5 separate regions of the Homo sapiens genome follow, and all the other regions are linked to region 2. Evidence: promoter capture Hi-C in 16 types of primary human blood cells and fetal thymus (Javierre and others, 2016). All regions are on one chromosome and are shown on one strand. Each heading gives the region's core, a stretch centred on a gene start or on the middle of the fragment in contact. The rest is flanking DNA. Distances are from core to core; before and after follow the strand shown.

Evidence for each region. Contacts are between HindIII fragments. The CHiCAGO score rates a contact against its expected background, and 5 or more counts as called.
Region 1: a contact is called between a fragment that was not itself captured here and the fragment with the promoter of PAG1 in region 2, in 1 of 17 cell types (total B cells). The highest score is 5.4, in total B cells.
Region 3: a contact is called between a fragment that was not itself captured here and the fragment with the promoter of PAG1 in region 2, in 1 of 17 cell types (non-activated CD4 T cells). The highest score is 5.9, in non-activated CD4 T cells.
Region 4: a contact is called between a fragment that was not itself captured here and the fragment with the promoter of PAG1 in region 2, in 8 of 17 cell types (fetal thymus, activated CD4 T cells, naive CD8 T cells and 5 more). The highest score is 12.7, in fetal thymus.
Region 5: a fragment that was not itself captured here is called in contact with the fragment with the promoter of PAG1 in region 2 in 1 of 17 cell types (M2 macrophages); the score reaches 5.0 in M2 macrophages.

What each region holds. Positions count from the first base shown.
Region 1 is chr8:80,179,119-80,181,894 of GRCh38, reverse strand. The region is part of intron 3 of LOC105375920 (a long non-coding RNA gene); the gene reads left to right. Among named protein-coding and RNA genes, the nearest start is that of TPD52-MRPS28, 8.9 kb to the right of the region's middle. The HindIII fragment of the contact is 5,996 bases long and covers 1-2,776 here.
Region 2 is chr8:81,110,573-81,113,395 of GRCh38, reverse strand. PAG1 (phosphoprotein membrane anchor with glycosphingolipid microdomains 1) reads left to right here and starts at 1,328. Exons shown (of 9, transcript NM_018440.4): 1 at 1,328-1,805. RefSeq lists a silencer at 1,193-1,322 and an enhancer at 1,813-1,882. The HindIII fragment of the contact is 5,316 bases long and covers 1-2,823 here.
Region 3 is chr8:80,138,009-80,140,708 of GRCh38, reverse strand. The region is part of intron 1 of TPD52-MRPS28 (TPD52-MRPS28 readthrough); the gene reads left to right. All of the region lies in intron 1 of TPD52 (tumor protein D52), which reads left to right. Among named protein-coding and RNA genes, the nearest start is that of TPD52, 32 kb to the left of the region's middle. RefSeq lists an enhancer at 2,081-2,130. The HindIII fragment of the contact is 4,101 bases long and covers 1-2,700 here.
Region 4 is chr8:80,489,171-80,491,946 of GRCh38, reverse strand. The region is part of intron 1 of ZBTB10 (zinc finger and BTB domain containing 10); the gene reads right to left. Among named protein-coding and RNA genes, the nearest start is that of ZBTB10, 4.3 kb to the right of the region's middle. The HindIII fragment of the contact is 4,296 bases long and covers 1-2,776 here.
Region 5 is chr8:81,659,329-81,662,028 of GRCh38, reverse strand. IMPA1 (inositol monophosphatase 1) reads left to right here. Exons shown (of 9, transcript NM_005536.4): 8 at 1,362-1,513; 9 at 2,563-2,700. The coding sequence ends at 2,678. Among named protein-coding and RNA genes, the nearest start is that of IMPA1, 26 kb to the left of the region's middle. The HindIII fragment of the contact is 627 bases long and covers 1,035-1,661 here.

The sequences.
Region 1 (2,776 bases), core at 261-2,760, 930 kb after region 2:
TAGCCCAGTGGCATTCAGTACATTCACAGAACTCCAGAACTTTTTCATCATCCCAACTGAAACTCTGTACCTGTTTCTTTTCTTTCTTTCTTTTTTGTGTGTGTGTTTTTTTTTTTTTTTTTTTTTTTTTTTTTTTTTTTTTGAGACAGGTTCTTATACTCTGTTGCCCAGGCTGGAGTGCAGTGGGGCAATCATGGTTCACGGCAGCCTTGACCTCCCGGGGCTCAAGCAATCCTCTCGCCTCAACCCCACAAGTACCTGGGACTGCAGGCATGCGCCACCACACCCAACTACTTTTTGTATTTTTTGTAGACATAGGGTTTCACCATGTTGCCCAGATTGGTCTCGGACTCCTGGGTTCAAGCAATCTACTCGCCTCGGCCTCCCAAAGTGTTGGGATTATGGGCATGAGCCACCATGCTCAGCCCGTACCTATTAAACAATGTAGATTACTGTTAATATGATAAGCTCAGTGTTAAAAAAATATCAAGAACAAACTAAAGAGGATAATAAAAATAATCTGGGCCTATCATCAAGAAGTAACTATTATTAACATTTGTCAATGTCTTGCCAGATATCTTTCTGTGCATAAGATCGAATATGCAAATCTATTTTTTCCAAAAATGTGATCACAATCTGCTTTGCTTTCTCATCACGAAGAATGTTTTGTCCATCTTCCTACGCACCATAGATTTTCAGAGCTGAAAGGAAAATTGGAAATAGTGTCAGTAAGGGTCCTTATATTTCACTGGAAATGTGTGGGGCTTGAGAGCTCTCTTCAAAGAACAAACACAGAGATTTCATGGCTACTTCAAGGATTCAGGGAAATAGCAAATAACTTCTCCCTAAAAAAAAGTTTGTGCTACCTAGTATATTCATGCAACCTAATTTGTTTTTTTAGCTTATTGTCTCACTAATTTATCAGTCTTTTTATTTTTACTTTCCAGTTTTTAGTTTTTTATAGTTAAACATGTACATATTTTAAAGAGGCAAACAAGGATTTTTGCAAAAAAGCAAAAAACAAAACAGAAAAACCCAGCAGTCCACCCTCTTACCCTTTGCATTTTCCTCCTTGAAGGCAACCACTTTCAAATCAAAATCATTTAGGTTTTCTGTTTGTTTGTTTTTGAAAGAGTCTAGGCTCTGTCGCCCAGGCTGGAGTGCAGTGGCGCGATCTCGGCTCACTGCAACCTCTGCCTCCCTGGTTCAAGCCATTCTCCTGCCTCAGCCTCCAGAGTAGATGGGATTACAGGCTCCCACCACCACACCTGGCTAATTTTTGTATTTTTAATAGAGATTGGATTTCATTATGTTGTTCAGGCTGGTCTTGAATTCCTGACCTCAAGTGATCTGTCCTCCTTGGCCTCCCAAAGTGCTGGGATTACAGGCATGAGCCACCACACCTGGCCTAGTTTTTTTTTTTTTTTTTTTTAAATAACTTGCATATATTGATAATTCCAGTTTTCGGCATTATCCACCAGTTTTCCACTATGAATGATGAGGATTCATCCTTTCTATTCACCCCTCAGTATTACTCATTCCTAACTTTCTTACCTGCTCCCATTCTGTCTTTTCAATCTAAGAAGAAAATAAGGTAGAAATCACTTTTCTTCAGTAAATTAAGCCTAATCCTCCATTGTCTTCTAGTTTTGTTGTCCATGACTCCAAACCCATTGTTATTCCTTTTACTTTGAATGTGACCATTTTTTTTCCATCTCTAGAACTTGTGGGGTCTTTATCTCCAGTGTTCTGAACTTTATAAATTTGTGCCGTGTTCTCAGTGAGCCCTTTCAATCTGGAAATCCTTCAGTCTGGGGAAATTCCCTGAATTATTTCACTGATTCCTTCTTTTTTTCTGTTTCTTCCATGTCTTTCTCTTGGCCTCTTTTTTGGATGTTAGACCTCTGGGATCAGTCTTCTGATTTTCTTATATGTTCCCCTTTATTTTTCATACCTTTGTTTTTTGGTCTTCTCTCTAGAAAATTTACTTTATACTCCAAACCAACCATGGAGTGGCTTAAAGTAGCACAGAGGTATTAACTTATGGTTCTGAGGATCAGGAGTCTAACATGAGCCTCACAGGACTAATGTCAAGGTATCTAGGACTAACAAGGTATGTTCTTTCTAGAGGCTCTTGAGAAAAATTTGTTTCTTGCATATTCAGGTTGTTGCAATTCGGTGTCGCATGATTGTATGCTAAGGTCCTGTTTTCTTGATGGTGGTCAACTAAGGGCTCATTCAGCTTATAGAGGTCACCCGTACTCCTTGGCCCATGGTCCCCTTTTCTCCATCTTCAAAGCCAGCAAGAGTGGGTCAAGTCCTCTCATGCTTTCGAAACTCTCCTGCCTCTTTTTCTGTTGTGGCATCTCTCAGTCACAAGATTCTCAGCTCTTAAGAGCACATGTAGGTGGGGTGCAGGGGCACACACCTGTAATCCCAGCACTTTGGGAGGCCAAGGTGAGCAGATCACTTAAGCTCAGGAGTTTAAGATCAGTCTGGGCAACGTGACAAAACCCCGTCTCTACAAAAACATATGAAAATTAGCTGGGTGTGGTGGTGCTCATCTGTAGTCCCAGCTACCTGGGAGGCTGAGGTGGGAGGATTTTTTTGAATCCTGGAAGTCGAGGCTGCAGTTAGCCAAGATCATGCCACTACATTCCAGCCTTGGTGACAGAGTGGGACCCTGTCTCAAAAAACAAAAACAAAAGAGCACATGTTATTAGAGTGGGTCCATCTGATAATCCAGGATAATCTTCCTCTCTCAAGATCTCTAACC
Region 2 (2,823 bases), core at 79-2,578:
GCTCTGAAGCAAGAGGCCAAGTCTGGTTCCTGGGTCCGCTTCCCCAATGGGCTTTTCCAAGCTGTAGGCTGAGTCTAAACTGTTTCCTCCCACATACCCTTCCCTCTGCGACACACTAACAACATCCCTTACTCCATCACTGTCTTCCTTACCCTCTCCTGATGAGCCTTCTTCCCCAGCCACCTTTAAGCTCCCATTAATGATATGTGTAACGAGTGTTCAATAGAGTGTGTGTGTGTATATTTAATGCCATTTATATGTTTTTTCTTGCTAAGTAATGCATCATAATTTTAGAAAATTGGGACTAGTCAGATAAAGCACCCGTTGGTTTAGAATCCCTGACTCAAAGTCAGATGTCCTGAGTTCTAGACTTGGTTTGTCTCCTTGTAAGTGCAAAAGTTTATTCCCAATTCCAGGTTGCTAGTGTAAACTTGAAGTTTGGCCCAAACAAAACCCCTATCAGATTTATTTAGAGTGTTGATGCCAAATGGAATTCTAGAAGCCCACCTTTGCCAGGGGCTGAGCCAGAACCACTATCACTGGGGGTACGGCCTGGGCATTTGTTCTGCGTTTTTTATAAGCCCCTCGGGTGACTGTCAGACAGGCCAACTGTTTCAGAAGCTCTGCTCCAGGCTCTAGATCACACGTTAAGTAGCAAGGATGGGGGTCTGGACCTCCAGTATTGGCATCCTCCGAGAGCTTGTTAGAAAGGATGTCTCCCTCATTATCCCAGGCCTACTGAATCTGAATCTTGCATCTCATCACAATCCGCAGGAGATTCTGTCACACACTGAGGGTTTGAGAAGCACTGCTGTACCTTGGTATCTTTAGATACCTACTGATACCTGGGTGGGCCCCACCCAGACATTGTCCTGTACTTGTTCTGGGATGCGTCCGGGGCAAAGGGTTCTTACAAGCTCCCCAAGTTATTTTAATGCACAGCCACAATAGAAGATCACTGTCCCCCAAATGGCAACCCTTTACGGTTAAGCTGTAACCTGAATTAAATTGGCTTTTGTGGGCTCCCCAGGGACCTTAAGGACCGCTTAAACGGTGCTGTTTAAAGGACAATGGGCTCCTGGGACAAGTTCAACCACAGAGCTTTGGGTTCATAAAATCAGGGCAGGGAAGACTTCCTGCATCCTCCCGCGAGCAAGCCAGGCCCCGCGCCGGTCCTCACCCGTGTGCACCCCCAGCCCGGCCCCGCCCGGCTCGCCCCCTCCCGCCCCGCGGCCCGCCCCTCCTCCCCCGTGACGTGCCGCTGCGGCCAGGATCATGCGCACTCGCGCCCCGCTCCCCGCGCGGCTGCTCCGCCTCGGCGCCTGTCATTCTCCGCGGCGCGGCGGCGAGTGCTGGCTGCGGTACCCTCCCGCTCGCTTGTCCGTCTGCGCGCCCGCGATGTGACCAGCCGACTGGGGGCGGGCTGGCGGCTCTGCCTGCGGCAGCGCATCGGTTTTTCTCCTGGCAGGTCCCTAATTGAGCCGTGATTCCCTTGGAGCCAGAGACACCCACCAGGGGCTCGGAGCGCCGCGCTCCGGGGCTGGAGGCAGCTGCAGCGCTCGGGTCCGCGCGGCCGGGTGCAGTAGCCTCAGTCCCAGCCGCCGCCTCGCTGAGTCGTGTGCCCTGGCGAATGCCCGGCGCCCGGCACAGCTGAGCCAAGGCGACTGGTGCAGAGCGGCGGCGCCTGGTCCTGCACTTGCCGCTGCTGCCGGGCTGTGCCGGGGCGGCGGCGCTGCGCGCCGGAGTTTGCAGAGGCTGCCTCCGAGCGCCGTCCGCCAGGAAGACTCCCTGCCTCCTGAGTCCCAGTAAGTTGACTGTAGTTTCTGAAGTTGGAGGGAGCCGTGGGAAGGAGAGGTTCGTTTTTATCTTCTTGTGGGAAGCCGAGGGTGGCACCTCTTGTTAACAGAGTTCCAGCTCGAGGAGGGAGTGCGGGGTGCCAAGAAGGGGACAAGGCAGCTGGAAGGTCTGGAGTCCAGGGCTGGCTGACCTCAGCATCTCACGAATGTGCCAGTTGGAAATATGCTGGGAGAGGACAGGTACTCCTAGGGCATTTCGACTGCTGCGTGCTAATTATTCATTCCAAGCTCCTTGACTCTGTGTTTACGTTGGGGTGAAGGGGCTGGGCAGGGTCTTGTCACCTCCATCCTAATTCCTCTGGGGAGTGTGGCCAGCACTGCGATGGATCTTTGGGCGAGCCATTTCTTTCAGGCCTGCAGGCTTCCCGCGCATCCCGCTTTACTCTTCCCCTAGGCAGAAGTTGCCAACCTTTTCATAATTGGAGCCTAGTCCTTTAGGGAAAAAACAACTTATATGTCGACCCGGTGTTTTATGCCCTAAGGCAAATAAAACGAGCTCTGGGCGTGTGAATTCATACACTTTAAGAATGTAGGCAAGTCTCAAGAAATAGGATTCAGATAATGACACTTGGATTTCACCCTGATTGTCCTGCACCTCTTATGTAAGCCTCCCGGCTGGATAACTTTATCTCTGCAGTGGCTGCAGCTGTGGCCCTCCATTCCATTTGTTTAAAGTCCAATTGAACAGTATTTACTGAAAATGCTGACATGATATAGCGGCCTGAAGTCTGAAACAGAGTGCACTCTTCAAATTGGAGTGTCTTCTCCTAATAGGGAGCATGGGAGGAACAACCCACTATATTTTTCAAGGCAGCTCCAGGAATTAGACCCATAAATCATGTTTTAAAATAGCATGCATTGTGCAGAGAGCATGCAGAGGACCGCTTTTTGAACACATCCCCTTTGTTTTAGAAAAAGTGGAAATTGTTCATGCCAGACAATTGTTGAGTCTAAAAGTTAAGTGTAC
Region 3 (2,700 bases), core at 26-2,525, 970 kb after region 2:
ACCACCTTCAACCAATTCATATAAAAATAGATTACATGTGGGAGTTGTATTTGTTTGTGTGTGGTGTGCATCCAAGTCAGTGTTAATTTTAAGTGAGTGTCCTGCACTCTGGGTGTTTTTCGTAGCTACAAGGAAGCCTTAACCGTTGTTACTTACAATGGATTACTTTTCAAAAGTTGTTTAATCTCTTTCAGGTCATTAATGGCTTGGAGACTAATAAGCAAAACCATTAAATACTACTTTATGTCTGAAAAAAGAGTTAATGTTCCTGGAAAAAGCGAGCTGTTTTCTTTAGTTAACAAGGTGGAGCTGGTGTTCCCAGTGGTTCCGGTTCTAATAAGACTTGATGAGTTGGAAATGATGTTATTCTGGAGACAACTGTGGAGTAATTAGAATTTTACCTCATTTTAATTAAAAGATTCTAACTCTAACCTACCTTCCCAGGCATTTGGGAAAGGCACAGGTAGGTCTCCTTGCCAGTGAGGCTCCACTACTCACTTGTGGGGTTGACATCAGGAGAACCCAGGACTTGGGCCTTAGTGAGGTCTCACGTTCTCACCACTAAACAAAGAGAAAGCATTTATGCAGGCATCGAACCAGCGTCTGTGTGTCACAGCTGGACTGGTGCTGAAAAAATCACCAGGGCCTTAGCATAAAACAAAGGCTGCTTTATTATGTTGAGAGCATAAATAGGCTTCTTTTCTTTTTTCAGTCAGATATGAAATTAGAGTTGCTTACTGCTAACATGGAGCCTGCTGGATTGAGCTGTTTTGCTCACTTCTGCCAGATAATCAGAAGAGCCGGGTGGGGTCCCCTAGCTGGGTGACTGGGAGTCAGGCATCCATCCCCCGAACATCAGGCTCCCCATTTGTAAATGTCTTGTATTCCTGTCAAGATGGTTAGGAGGATTGAAAAACGCCGTTGTATTTTATTTGATTTTGATAATACACTTAACATGAGATCTAACCTCTTAACAAATTTTTAAGTGTATAATGCAGTATTGTTAGCTATAGTGTTCAAGTGCATTGGGAGGCGCTATCCAAATGCAACCCCTTCCCCGCCCTCACCCCCACCCCCCGTTTATTGCTACTTGTTATTTTCATGGTTGTGCTGAATTTTTCCCCAAGGCAAATCTTTACCTCTGCCCTTGAAGTTGCATATGCCCCAGAGTGGGTAATTATTAACTGTATTAATCTGGACCATATACTGTACAGTCTTTGGATAACCTGGACAGTTTATAATTTTAAATGTTTTAAAAGTTTGCAAGTCTGAAACTCTGAAAAAATTTTTTTTTTCATAAAAATACTAGCCTAGGCTGCTGATGGATGTGGGTTTCTTTTTGGGGTATGAAAATTAGATTGCGGTGATGTTTGCATAACTCTGTGAATATACTAAAAACCAGTGAACCATACTCTTTATAAAAAAATAGTGGATTTTATAGTATGCGAATTATTTCTCAAGCTGCTATTAGAAACAAAACACTGTCCTAATTGTTACTGTAAAAATACCCTTATTTTCTCCCCTCCCTGCCAGTGTCTTAGGCAGAGCAGCCATTCAGTAAATACAGGTGGCTGAGTGTTGAATAATATAGTTGAAATAATCCAAGTGGCACAAATAGATGAGAGTGGAAGTGGGGGCTGCAGTGTCAGTTGTAGAAATCTCACGGGAGGCAGACTCATGGGGTGGCTGAGACGGTGGCTCCTTTGTCAGTGGAGGCACTGGAGGAAGAAGACCCCACTAGCAGGAGAGGCTCTGGGTCGGAGGGGCTGCCATGATCCTGGAAACAGGTCATCTGGTTGGCTCGTGTTTGAAAGTTGAGAATACTAATATTTTATGGTCCAAATTTTGGTTACCTTGGCCTTGTAAATCAGGAAGCCGTCTGATGACAGGATGAGCCTAAGGTGGGGAGGGGAGGATGCGGTGAGCCACAGGTTCTCAATGTTCAGAGAGCCAGTGTCCTTAAATAGCGAGGTGAAGAGCTCAATTAGGAACCAAAGCCAAAAATGAGCTGAGGCAAGATGGTAGAACCCAGGCCTGGATCTGAGCAGTTGTCAAAAGTCTGGTTACAACATTTGAGAGTGTGGTGTTCAGCTACCTTTTTGGATTCAGTTTTAGTTTTTTATTTGCATATTCTTTTTCTTTTTGATAAAGCTCTATGAGGACTATGTTTTCAACTCCCTAGATGCATATAGTCCTGTACTCAGATATAATGTATCTAATCTCTTCCCAGATTTATAATTGCAAACCATAAGCCACTTTGAGTTGTGTTCCAGCACCTGCCGAAGGAGACGACTAAATGATATGAACCCCATTTTCCTCCTAAGAGGGCATTCAAATTCTCTTCCTCTTGGATTTTATGAAATCAGATTTCAGTTGGAAGATTCTGTCACTTGGCCTCTTATTGTCAAACACAGGTACCTTTTAACGCAGACTTCTACTGAGAAATAATTAGAGACAGGGTCTCATGGTCAGGCGCGGTGGCTCATGCCTGTTATCTCAGCACTTTGGGAGGCTGAGGCGAGCGGATCACCTGAGGTCGGGAGTTCACCACCAGCCTGACCAACATGGAGAAACCCCATCTCTACAAAAAATACAAAATTAGCCGGGCGTGGTGGCGCATGTCTGTAATCCCAGCAACTTGGGAGGCTGAGGCAGGAGAATTGCTTGAACCTGGGAGGCGAGGTTGCAGTGAGCCAAGAT
Region 4 (2,776 bases), core at 22-2,521, 620 kb after region 2:
ATTTCAATCAGATCACTGGTCTGAATTCATTACTTAGTTTCTGTAAAGGTTAACTAAATTTACAACAATAATACATTTGGATGCATGTTTCTCCCAGGAAGAGTTGACAGGATGTGTGATTTAGGCTATGAAAATTTCACAATTAGGTAGAAAGTGGTCTAAACCAAGAATAACTGGTAATCACTGTTATTAAGGAATTTTAAAGTCTTCTGGGCCAAATGGTCAGATACTGAATGAGCTAATCATTAAACCTGACTCTGACGATGTAGTCAATTGTTACTCAAAATTAAACTATTAATTGTCCCTCACATCCTTATAAATACAGGGACACCTCGGAAATAGAAGGCTCAAAACACAGACTCAGAAAGCATGTTTTAAAAGACTTTCCCATGAACAGTCCACAATAACCAAGGTCCAATTAACAGAAGGATTAACTTTTTGGTAACTACCAAGGGATTAACAAAAAGATACTTTTCTTACTTAGAGGAAAGTAACCTTTCATGACATACAGTTATGCATCACTTAACGAGAGGGATATGATCTGAGAGATGCATCGATTTTGTCACTGTGCCTTAGCGTACACAAACCTAGATGGTATAACCTACTACACACCTAGGCTATATGGTTGGGCCTATTGCTCCCAGACTACAAATCTGTACACTATGTTACTGTAAGGAATACTTTAGGCAACTGTAACACAATAGTATTTGTGTATCTAATCTATCTAAACATGAAAAAGGTACAGTAAAAATATGGCACACCTTATAGGGCACTCACCATGAACAGAGCTGGCATACCTGGAAGCTGCTCTGGGTGAGTCAGTGAGTGGTGACTGAATGAAAGGCCTAGGACATTACCATACACTGCTGTAGATTTTATGAGCACCGTACACTTAGGCTACACTAAGTACAGACAGGGTCTCACCATGTTGGTCAGGCTGGTCTCGAACTCCTGACCTCAAGTGATTCACCCACCTCGGCCCCGCAAAGTGCTGGGATTACAAAACAAAGTACGCTACAACTTTACGCTATCACCAGGCGATAGTAATTTTTCAGCTCCGCTATAATCTTATGGGACCATTATCATAAATGCAGTCCATCCTTGAGAACGTCATGCAGTACATGACTGTGTTAAGATGTGGCCAAATTCCTCTCAGAAACGGGACTCTTTGAGAAATAATTGGGAAAATAGGAGTTTAGTACTCCTAGACTCAAAGTGATTTCTTGCCTAAAGAATTCTAAAACTCTCATTTCCATGTTTTTAAGACAAGATATTAAGAGTGTCTTTGTGAAGCTGAGAAAAACTGCATGTATGAGAAATAGGCTCAGAATGTTCAAAGAACCTGATGGCCACAAAGTCTCTGAAGGTATAAAAAGGAGAACTGATTGGTGATCAAAATGAGTAATAACGGCCAGGCTCAGTGGCTCACACCTGTAATCCCAGCATTTTGGGGAGGTCAAGGTGGGAGAATTGCTTGAGCCCAAAAGGTTGAGACCAGCCTGGGCAACATAGCGAGACTCCCGTTTCAACAAAAAACTTAAAAATTAGCCAGGAATGGTGGCGCGCACCTGTAGTTCTAGCTACTCGGGAGGATGCCTGAGCCCAGGAGGCTGCAGTGAGCCTTTATCTCACCACTGCACTCCAGCCTGGGCAATAGAGTCACTGTCTCAAAAAAACAAAACAAAAAGGTAATAATGATAATAAATAACGGCACTAAGTGGTTTTATGCTGGCACATATACTTTGCATACATAACGAAACTAGAAGTTAACTAATTTGCCTGCCTAAAAAGTAGAGATTTAAGAGCAAAGTCCTCTGACCTTAAGCCCAAGTAGGCGCTTACATTACGTGTTGTGTTATACTGCCTCCTATAGGTAATTGGAGACTGAAGAAAAACGAAAAACAAAATGATTGCACTCTGCCCAAAAGAGATCAGGAACCTGTTACTCATGTTACTCATGTTAAGACAAACAGGTATTTATATAGGTGGTACCTGGGGGGTTGATAACAAGATATCCCCTCAAGATTAGTTATAATGAAAGTAATAAATGATTAAGATCAATTCAAAGTGAAAACACCCAAAATCCAATCAAGGAGACCAATATATAACCTTAGGACACACAGGACTTACTAAAACTGTAGCCCTTAATATATGTATATTGTATAGAATGTCCCAAAGAAAGGAGATGGCCTGCAGATTACATTGATGGGGGAATTTAAAGGAGTGATGAGGAAGAGAGTCGTAGTTCGGGTCAAGTTTAGAAAGGTTTTTCCTAGGAATTCCAAGACGCAGATACATACCCAGAGGAGAAGAATACACTCAAGCTGAGGCTACCTTAAGGTTATCCAATTAATGCCCCTTCTTCTGATTTCAGGTTCACTAAAGGAGCTAATTATAATTTGCATTCCCATTCAGATTTGCCTACAGGGAGAGACTATGCTGATAAAGAGGAATTGGTCCACAGCCGATTAAGAAAATTCATCCCATTTAAAATTTTCTAAGTAACCAACATAGCCCTATTTGGAAAATTAAACTTTCATTTTCACAAGTCCCTTGCAACTCCATCATCTTACTACATAACTTCAGGAATGTTACTTAACCCTTTAAGGCTTTAGATTCCTCTTCTGTAAAATGGGAACAAAAAATAAATACTTTGCAGAATAAATGTGTTTGGCACACGGAAAACCAGGAGCTGTTAGTTCCATTTCACTCTATTGCCCAAGCTCACAAAGCTAGTTAATTGCAGAAAGCTGAGATCTGAACCCAGATTTACTCC
Region 5 (2,700 bases), core at 99-2,598, 550 kb before region 2:
CTTAGGTGCAATTTTTTTATTTTTATTTTTGAGATATAAAACAAATGCCACATTAGTCATCAGTTTTCCATGTTTTTAAATAAATAAACTGTGAAAGATCTCATTGAACAGAACTCACTCCCTTATTACCATCGCTTTAAACAGTTGGAGAAGGAATTTGTGTAAAAACCACTTGAAAGTAACTTGTAGACATGATGACGTTTGTCTTCTAAATACACATTTCAGCGTGTGTGTCTTTAATAAAAGGGACATTGTCTAACATAGCCACAGTACAATGATAAAAGTAAGGGAATTAACATGGATACATAATCTAATATAAGACTTTATTCAAATTTTGAAAATTTTAATCCAACATCCAGTCTAGAGTCATGTATTGCATTTAGTTGTCATTTCTCATCAATTTCCTTTAATTTAGAACTTGCTTAGTCTTTGTCTTTTATCACCTTGACATTTTTCAGAAGTATAGGCCAATTATTTTGTAGTCTGTCTCTTGAATTTGAATTTGTCTGGTTTCCTCATGATTATATTTGGATCATGGATTTTTGGCAGGAATGCCGCAAAAGTAATGTTCTGTCCTTCTCAGTGCATTTTATCAGGCACATTTCTTTTTGTCCCATTATGAGTGATATTAACTTGGATAACTTGGTAATGGTAGACCATTGTAAAGATGCTATTTTTCCATTGTACTTATTATGTATCTTGTGGAGAGACACTTTGACACTCTGTAAATTATCAGACTCACCCATTAATTTTAACATTGATTCTTTACTGAATAAATTATTACTATAATTGCTATCAAGTGTATTTATATTCAACTTAACTTGTATTCAAGGAAGAGGTGCTATGAGAGGGCAAACCTGCAGTAATTTTCCAAGGCAGGCTTAGGTCTTTGCAGAGCCTGGCATGCTGTTGTTGCTTTAGGCACATGTATGACGCACACCCAGTTGAAAATGACCCATACCATGATATTTTACACCTCCTAGAGACTATTTGCATTGTGGGTATGTGTATATGTGTGTAAAATAATATAAGCTTTAGTAGCTGGATTTAGACAAATATTAATATACTTGCATTTCATTATTGTAGAATTAAGCATTGTCTTTATTTTTTATGAAAAATTATTGTTTTAATGTTTATCTTATTAAATTATTGCTTTGTGAGGGTTTTGTGATTTATATAATATACGATGATAATTAGATTTATACATATTTTTATTTTACAATTAGATATCACCTCTTAAAATCTTTATCCTCTAGATCGTTCCAAGTTTCTTCAATCGACACTTAAAGTGAAGTTAAGGAGGAATATCTTACTTGAAAGGATTATTTTTTCCAATTTTATTTCTAAATTCTATTTGTTAGGATCCGGAGTGTTGGAACAGCAGCTGTTAATATGTGCCTTGTGGCAACTGGCGGAGCAGATGCATATTATGAAATGGGAATTCACTGCTGGGATGTTGCAGGAGCTGGCATTATTGTTACTGAAGCTGGTGGCGTGCTAATGGATGTTACAGGTAAAATTATGGAGAGTGAAGCAGATCTCCACACATCTGTTGGACTTTTGTCCATATGTAGAATTTAAAAAACTTTTTGATATATGTTATACTGCAGTTTTTGAAGCAGAAACAAGCTATATAATTGTGTGCAAAATCAAAATAAGCTTTAGGAGATAGAGGTAAGGATAAGAGGTAATGGTAATGTGAGACTTACAATGATAAATGGCTAATCCTTTTCTAGTGTGAGTTTCAGGTACTCCTGAAAGGCTGTAGAAAAAGCCTAGACCAAGTTTGTCCAACCTGCAGTCCATGGGCCACATGTGGCTCAGGATGGCTTTGAATGTGGCCCAACACAACTTTGTAAACTTTCTTAAAACATAATGAGTTTTTTGCGATTAAAAAAATTTTTTTTAGCTCATCAGCCGTCATTAGTGCTAGTGTATTTTATGTGTGGCCCAAGACAATTCTTATTCTTCCAGTGTGGCCCAGGGAAGCCAAAATATTCGACACCCTTGGCCTAGACAGTCACCGAGTCTGAGGCTTATACCCAGAGCTCTTTGAATGGTGACAATGGTGATAGTTGATGATGGACTTCCTCCACCATCACTTTCTGTGTTGAGACTAGAGAAGTTAAATAATTGCTTTCAACTGATGGTGAAAATTTTAAACCGAAGGGTGAATCTGTGCTGAAAGAATTCACCAGTGATCTGGGAGAAAGGCAACAAAGAAATAAGGAAATGGGAAGGACAGTGGTATGAAAATGCATTGGATTCACATTTTCTGTCCATAGATTCTTAAACAATAAAGAGGTAATAAGAATGCACAAAAATAGAGAAAATATGACATTTTCTAACTGGTATGACTTCATTATTTACTCAAAAATTATGCTTAGAAACAGTTATATATTGTCTAAGCTTATACATTGTAGAAATGTAACAGTAGATTTTTGTTTAAGAAAACTGAAAGTATTAAAATGTTATGTGACCATAGTACATATTGCTATACTTGTTTTATATGAATTATTTTTGTACCAGATAAAATTATTTTTCATACTTGTTTGCTTTTAGGTGGACCATTTGATTTGATGTCACGAAGAGTAATTGCTGCAAATAATAGAATATTAGCAGAAAGGATAGCTAAAGAAATTCAGGTTATACCTTTGCAACGAGACGACGAAGATTAATTAAGGCAGCCTCATAGTCAAT